Regions from separate parts of the Homo sapiens genome. Here region 2 is linked to region 1. Evidence: promoter capture Hi-C in 16 types of primary human blood cells and fetal thymus (Javierre and others, 2016). All regions are on one chromosome and are shown on one strand. Each heading gives the region's core, a stretch centred on a gene start or on the middle of the fragment in contact. The rest is flanking DNA. Distances are from core to core; before and after follow the strand shown.

Region 1 (3,930 bases), core at 773-3,272:
GTCAGGTGCCCAAGCTATGGAATGAAAGCAGGAACTCACACCCCACTAATTGACCCAGAAGATGCTCTATTGGCCAGGGCACATGTCGTGCCACAAGGCAAGTATGGTCCTGCCCATCCTCACTGGGCAGACAAACACCAGAGCTGGAGGACACAGTCACAGTCACACCACGCCAAAGACTACCTCCTGGGACCTAGAAGATTCTTATGTCCATACATATTCACATCAATGGAAAACAAAATTTCAGAGTCATATAGATGTCAATCTGAATCATGGCTTGCCACTTCTAGCTGTGTGCCTTTGAACAAATTATTACACTACTCTGACCGTCAGCTTCATCTTGCAACAAGGGAATAGTAATCTCTTACAAGGTTCTGTGAGGATTAAATATCTCTCTCCTATAAGTGAAATGCCTAGCACAGCTTTGTGCCCACAGAGGTACTAGTGGCAGCTTTTCATGAACATCTGAAAGTTCCAGGTAACACTTCAGGGCTGTGTTAAATGCCTTACAGACATTTTATAAGTCCCTTCCAAGGAAACTGGGAGGCAAGAGCTCTGGCAGAAAACTAAACTAAATCCTAGTGCTGTCACATACCAGCCTCATGACCTTAGACAAGTCACTCTAGGCCTTGGTTAGCATGCCTGGAAAATGGAGATAACATCTCTCAGCCTGGCAAAAGAGATGACAAGCATGAGAGTTATAAGGTACCACACACAAAGCAATAACAGAGAAGAGTATCCTTCCTTTAACACATTCTAGGCAAGTAAAATATTGGAAATAGCAGATATCATCCTCCCAGCCAGGGCTCTAGGGCCCATTTCTCAATTATCTCTGATTCTCGAAAACCTCAGCAAACAGCTTGTTTAAAAAGCAGCTAAAGGCCACAATTATGCTTTGGGAAGCTCTGCTCTGCACAATGAGGAAAAAGGTGATATGAAGAAAACCAAGCCAAGGATGTCAACTTTGAGCACAGGCCTTGTCGGCTTCTCATTTGCTGTTCCTGGCCAGAGAACTGGGCTGACTAGAAGTGCAGCCAGCCAGGTCAGCGGCTGCCCTCCCGGATTCCAGCCACCCCAGCACCCATGGTTATTTTTGGCTGGACTGCCCTACCACTGCAACCTCAAACCTGCCACCTCGCAAGCCTCCACCACCAACGGTGAAACGCTCCTCCTTTTCAAGGGCATCAAGAAGGGAAGCTGGAAGGCCGCCAACTCCGCCTCTGATGGGGGCCTGGTTCAGGCAATTTCCACCCCAGCTCCACATCAGGGCACCCACACCCGGAACTAAAGCTAGAGACTCCCGGGCGGGACGGAGGAGCAGCCAGGGGATTTGAACTGTCAGCTTGGCCTAGCCCATCCTCCGGGCTGGAGTGGCTCTACCACCACAACAAAACACACAGGGGAGCCTGCGCCCTCGTTCGCGTCCCTTCCTGCCGCCCCAGGTCCCAGGGGGTCTCAGAGTCCCATCCCCTGTAACCGCCACCAGTGGCGCCGAGGGGAGACCCGGGGACAGAGGGAAAGCCGGACTGGGCCAGAATCAAACTCCAGGCCGCCAAGGGAGGAGTCATCTGCGGACTAAGCCTGAAGCCAGGGGTAGGGGAGGGGTCTGAAGGGCTTCTCTGGCTCTTCTACGTCGGACCCCGACCCCATTCCGCGGGCAGGCACAGAGCCCAAACTGGACCCTTGAGCGGCCCCAGAGGCCGTTCAGGCTCCGCCTTCAACACCGTGGGGTCGAGGTCAGGGTCTGCAGTGACCGCCCTCCGGGGCAGAAGCAGCGGGTCAGGGGTGAGAGGTCGCGGCCCGATATGGGCCGAAGAGGAGAAAGAAAGGGAGTAGGCCGAGACCGAATGGCACCAGCGCGCCTGCCCCGCCGACTCACCCCCGGCCGCCGCCGCCGCTGTCGCCGCCGCGGACCCCAGCCCACACTTACCGTCTCCCAGGCTCCGGCTGCAGCTAGGCCCCACTCCCCGCTCCGAGCGCCTCTTCCGCTTCCGGCTGCGACCTCCGCCCGTGGCAGCCCCGCCCCCTCGCGTGACGCAGCCGTCGCCAGCCTCGGCTCGACCCGGCTCGGAGGCCTGGCCGCTCTAGCCCCCGACTCGAAGGCTCCGGGGCACCAGCCCTCTCCGCTCCGGCGGGCGCCGCGGCCTAGGAGACTAGTTCCGGGAGGGCCGAGGGGACGAGCCTGGCCCGGCCCGCCTCCCGCCGTGTCGCGGCGCACGTAGGTCCCCCGACCTGACAGGTGCGCGGCCCGGGCCGGCTGGGCTCTCAGAGCCGAGAGGTGGGGCCCCGACCTGGCCGTGGGGCTGGGCCCGCTCCGTCGCCCCGACCCCGCGTGGTCCGCCAACTCCCTCCTGCGCGCGGAGAGGACGGGCATTGTTCTCGGGGCCCCGGAGAGCGCGAGAGCGGCCTGAGGTCTGTGTGCCGGAGCTCGGGAAGGCGGACGCGACTCCGCTTGCGCGAAACGAGCGAACGACACATTATTATCTTGGTGTGTGCGGGTTTTTTGAAAGCCGTGGTGGCGCTCCCAGCTCGCCAGTGCGTGCGGGGCAGTTTCTGGGAAGATACCCTAGAGCTACTCTGGCGGGGCCGGAGTCTGGAGGGAGGAGATCCCCTCTCCTTGAGCCCCCTCCTGTGGAGCGGCTTCCTGCCGGCCTGCGTGGCCTCTCAGTTAAGACTCCCCCGCTAGACAAAAGCCCCGCCGGCTGCGTCTCTGGGCCACTGGACAGCCCCCTTTTGCAGAGGCCTCGAGCGTGGGGTCACCAAAATCCCTGACACCTACTGTCCCGCGCCGGGTCGGACAGGATTACGAGGCCCCACTTTCCAGATGAGAAAACTGAGGTGGGGATCTTTTGAGACCTCACTGTGAGCGTGCGCGTCCCGCCCGGTCTGGGAGTGGCGTCCCCGGCCTCGCGAGCGTCGCGCAGTGAAGCGACAGGGCGTGGCGCCTAATTGTCCCCACGCCACGCGAGGGCTAGAAACCCGCAGTCGGGGCGGACCATCCCTCCAGGCACCGCCCCCTCCTTGGGACCGCTCCGCGGGGGCGCCAAGGGTTTCCCCAGCACCGCCCCGGCGGCCGCCAGCCAGCCGCGGCCCCGCCCATGCCCCTCCCCGCGGGTCTGGGCCCGCCCCTGAAGCGGGGAGGTGTCGCAGGGGAGCCCCCCGCTTCCGAGCTGCGGCTGCGCATCAAGTCCTTCGCCAGCGGCTCTCCCTGAAACGGGGGGTTTCAAGGCGTGATTTGTAGGGGTGTTTAGTATCCCCTAAATCTCTGCCAGCTCCACCATGGCTATCCGAAGTAAACAACAGAAGCTAATTCAAAACTGGGTCCCCTTCCAAAAAATTACAAAAATTAGCCGGACTGGGTGGCGCATGCCTGTAGTTCCAGCTCCTTGCAGGGGACTGAGGCAGGAGGATCGCTTGATCCCAGGAGGTTGAGATTGCAGTGAGCTATGATCACACCACTGCACTCCAGCCTGGTCGACAGAAGGAGACCCTGTCTCAAAAAATAAACAAAAAATCGGCCAAGCGCGGTGGTTCACCCCTCTAATCCCAGTACTTTGGGAGGCTGAGGTGGATGATCACCTGAGGTCAGGAATTCGAGACCAGTCTGGCCAACATGGCGAAACCCCGTCTCTACTAAAAATACAAAAATTAGCTAGACGTGGTGGCACGCGCCTGTAGTCCCAGATGCTCGGGAGGCTGAGGTGGGAGAATCACTTAAACCCGGGAGGCAGAGATTGCAGTGAGCCGAGATCGCGCCACTTCACTGCAGCCTGCGCAAGAGAGCAAAACTCCGTCTCAAAAAAGAAAGTTAGGAGCCGCTTCAGTGTACAGTGGGTGACCCAGATTGGCTGCTGAGGTCCTGCCCCCTAAGGTCCTATCTCAAAAGCTGAAGATTTTGAAAAATCCCAGGCCATCTGAGATGCCATTCCT
Region 2 (3,930 bases), core at 373-2,872, 250 kb after region 1:
AAACAGGCTTTCTCCATACTCTCTTTATCAGAAGGTTCATGACTGATGAGGTAGTGGTCACTCCAGCGGGAAGAGCAACAACCACTCTTGATAAGTACTTTTTTTTTTTCTTCTAAAAACTGTTGCTCTAAATTTGTTGAAAGTGGTTCAACAGTATTGGAGTCTGGGGTCAAGTGGCTGTGTAAGGACAACTTTTGCCATTGTGGGTGATCTATGGGCTGACACATACAACAGAAGAGGCCAGGAGGATGTCACTCGTGTGTGTGTGTGTGTGTGTGTGTTTGGTAACAGCTCTATTGAGATATAATTCACACACCATACAATTCACCCATTTAAAGTATGCAATTCAATGGCTTTTAGTGTATCAGAGAGTTGTTCAATAATTACCACAATATACTTTAGAATATTTTCATTTTCATCATCCTAAGAATCCCTACACACTTTATGTCCCATCCTCTAATTCCTCTATCCCCCTAGCTCTAAGCAACCACCAGTCTATTTTCTGTCTCTTAGATGTGTGTTTTAAATGCCTTATTTGCCAGAAAATAAGATTTTGGGGAAAAAAAGCAAGAAGTTGTACCTTCCAATGATAAGTATAAGGTATAGTGTAGATTGCTGTCATGAAATGCTCTACATGGCACATGTATGTTTTCTGACCTACACATTTTTACCAAGTGGGCTGTAATTTTGTTGAAATGACTTGAAAACTCTACAGGTGACTGACCCTTGTTGTTTGGGAAAGTGGTAGGTGCAGGGTGATGGGGGGTGGGTGTGGGGGCTGACCTGGGCTGGAAGGATGGGTCTGGGGATATGATATGATGGGAGGGGGTATGGAAGCAGCTCTGAGGGGAAAGCAGCACAGATCAAGTGTGTGGACAGGGAAGAGCTGACATCCTGAGTTCCATGGCAACCAGATTTGCCAAGGTCTTAGAGTGTGTCCAGAGTGGAGCCTGACCACAGACCTCAGCTCAAGGGACCCAGAGCCCCTCTGAGTCAGCTGTACTGAATTACAGCCCCAAATCTGGGTCAACTGGGGAGAGACGACGAGGATTAGGGTTCCAAGGTGAAACTGTGCCATTGCGCTCCAGCCTGGGCAACAAGAATGAAACTCTCTTAAAATAAAATAAAATAAAATAAAATAAAATAAAATAAAATAGCCTAAGGATGCATTTCTCAGAACTTATCCCTGTTGTTCAATGATGTGTGTCTATACAGTGGGGCCATAACTAAGACGTATGTTGCCCAAGCTGGCAAGATAGCTCTGACCTTCTCTTGGGCCCCTCATTTCCCCCAAACACAGGTTGTCTGCAGTCTTGACCAATGGCTGCCAGGGCATGGACTCCGCTGCAGGGGCCAGTGGGAGGCCCCAGCTCAGGCAAAAGCACAGGCAGATATTTCAGGAGTCTGCTAGGGCTGGCACTGAGGGCAGAGACAGAGGGGTCTCCCTGTCCTTTGGAGAACCTCACGCTGCAGAAATTCCAGACTGAACCTTCATACCGAGTAGGGGAGGAGCTGTCTGCGGGTTTGAGCCTGCAGCAGGAGGAAGGACGTGAACATTTTATCAGCTTCTGGTATGGCCTTGAGCTGGTAGTTATAATCTTGGCCCTGGTGGCCCAGGGCTACAGTCATCCTAGCAGTCCCCGCTGAAGTGGAGCAGGTACAGTCACAGCTGTGGGGACAGCATGCTGGCCAAGGGTCTTCCCCCACGCTCAGTCCTGGTCAAAGGCTGCCAGACCTTTCTGAGTGCCCCCAGGGAGGGGCTGGGGCGTCTCAGGGTGCCCACTGGCGAGGGAGCTGGCATCTCCACCCGCAGTCCTCGCCCCTTCAATGAGATCCCCTCTCCTGGTGACAATGGCTGGCTAAACCTGTACCATTTCTGGAGGGAGACGGGCACACACAAAGTCCACCTTCACCATGTCCAGAATTTCCAGAAGTATGGCCCGATTTACAGGTAAGCCTGGCAGAGGGTGGGAGCCGAAGGGACAGGGAGGAGGAGGGGCCTGGGTAGCCCTGCTGTAGTCCCCACTCCCCCAACAGGCTGTTCTCTGGTTCCAAACTCCTGTCTAACTTCTTTTTTTTTTTTTTTTTTGGTAATACAATACAGAAATATATCAGGGATATTTCAAAATTCAACATTTGAATCTGTGAATGTCTTAAGTACTCTAAACCAGACATCTACTTTTGAAACAATTGGTGGCAAGACCGCCAGCCATCTGTAAGGAAGCTCTTTAATGGGTCCAAACCCCAGGTCTGGCCAGGCATGGTGGCTCACACCCATAATCCCAGCACTTTGGGAGGCCGAGGTGGGCGGATCACTTGAGATCAAGAGTTCGAGACCATCCTGGCCAACATGATGAAACCCCGTCTCTACTAAAAATACAAAAATTAGCTGGGTGTGGTGGCAGGCGCCTGTAATCCCAGCTACTCGGGAGGCTGAAGCAGGAGAATGGCTTGAACCGGAGAGGCAGAGGTTGCAGTGAGCCGAGATCGCACCATTGCAATCCAGCCTGGGCGACAGAGTGAGATTCTGTCTCAAACAAAACAAAACAACCTCCTCGGTCTGAGGAGGGGAGACTGGTGAGGCTAAGTTTTGAATTCCTGGCCCTGTAGCTGTCAGCCCAGCCAGCGAGTTTTAAAAATTGGGAGAAGGCCGGGTGCGGTGGCTCACGCTTGTAATCCCAGCACTTTGGGAGGCTGAGGCAGGCGGATCACTTGAGGACAGGAGTTCGAGATCAACCCGGCCAACATGGTGAAACCCTGTCTCTACTACAAAAATAAATAAATAAATAAATAAATAAATAAATAAAATAAAAAAAATTAGCCGGGCATGGTGGCGGGGGTCTATAATCCCAGCTACTCGGGAGGCTGAGGCAGGACACTCGCCCGAACCCAGGAGGTGGAGGTTGCAGTGAGCCGAGATCATGTCACTGCACTCCCGCCCTGGGCAACAAAAGCGAAACTCTGTCTCAAAAAAAAAAAAAAAAAAAAAATCGGGGGAGGGAGATTTGAAGGTCAGAGCACAGAGTGAAAAGGTCGCAGCGTGGTCAAGTTTGGCGCTAGCGACAGACCCAGCATTCCTCCCAGCGCACGCCGCCGCCCGGGCCGCGCTATTCCGAAATTGGGTCCGCCCTAGCGTGGCCCCCGGCCTGCTCCTGCGCTCTTCGCGGGTCGCTCACCTCCGCCTCCCCTCGACACAGCCCGAGCCCATCCGCCCCCCGGGTCGACCCGCGTTTACCTCAGGGCGAGGTCCAGGCGCTCGGCCCCGCGGAGGCGGCGGCGGCCCCACCGCAGGTCCTAGGTCCCAGTCACTCTGCCGCCAAGTTCCCCAACACGGACTCCGTGCGCTTTGAGGTGTTACGGGGGCGCTGGAGCACTGGCTTCGCTGGCCCTGCCAGGAGGCGGCGGCGAAGCAGGGAGCGACCCGGTATGCGTTTCTCTGCCCGGCCTGCGGCCCTGCAGCATCCACTCCTCGCCTCTGCTGGCCTCTGCCCTCGCTCGCTGCGTTCACCCGAGCTCACCCGAGCCCACCGGAGCCGACAGTGGCGCGCTAAGGTGACGTCCGCGCGGCCGGACCTCTCCTGTCCAACTTCTGATCTTCTTCCAGGCCTGGGATGGTGGTGGGTAAAAGGGAAAGTATTCCTAGTTCCCAGGCCTGAGGCCTCAACCTTCCCCAGATCCCACTCCCTTTGAAACTCTCGGAGAGAGGTGGTTAGAGAACAAGCCCTACTAAATGCCTCCCTACATCCGTTACCCTCCGCACACCTTGCAAGCGAAGTTTGTTGTCCCCATGGTCAGAGGAGGAGACTGAGGCTCAGAGAGGTCACCCAGCTAGATTCCTGTCCTGCTGGGGTGCTGGATCTCACCCCTTGGCCCTGAGGCTCTGAGTCTGTCCCTTCCCTTTCCCAAGAATCGGGCTTGCTTCCTGCTAGG

Evidence for each region. Contacts are between HindIII fragments. The CHiCAGO score rates a contact against its expected background, and 5 or more counts as called.
Region 2: the fragment with the promoter of CYP11A1 here is called in contact with a fragment that was not itself captured in region 1 in 6 of 17 cell types (endothelial precursors, M1 macrophages, M0 macrophages and 3 more); the score reaches 8.0 in endothelial precursors.

Annotation. Positions count from the first base shown.
Region 1 is chr15:74,613,899-74,617,828 of GRCh38, reverse strand. CLK3-AS1 (CLK3 antisense RNA 1) reads left to right here and starts at 2,037. Exons shown (of 9, transcript XR_007064715.1): 1 at 2,037-3,930. CLK3 (CDC like kinase 3) reads right to left here and starts at 1,993. Exons shown (of 13, transcript NM_001130028.2): 1 at 1,931-1,993. RefSeq lists enhancers at 628-1,238, 1,239-1,850 and silencers at 1,939-2,478, 2,899-3,218. The HindIII fragment of the contact is 4,168 bases long and covers 1-3,930 here.
Region 2 is chr15:74,365,338-74,369,267 of GRCh38, reverse strand. It overlaps CYP11A1 (cytochrome P450 family 11 subfamily A member 1), which reads left to right and starts at 1,622. Exons shown (of 9, transcript NM_000781.3): 1 at 1,622-1,951. The coding sequence starts at 1,683. It overlaps LOC124903524 (a long non-coding RNA gene), which reads right to left and starts at 3,806. Exons shown (of 2, transcript XR_007064709.1): 1 at 3,763-3,806; 2 at 1-3,606. RefSeq lists enhancers at 1-44, 1,466-1,490, a promoter at 1-1,672 and a silencer at 3,080-3,239. The HindIII fragment of the contact is 5,873 bases long and covers 1-3,930 here.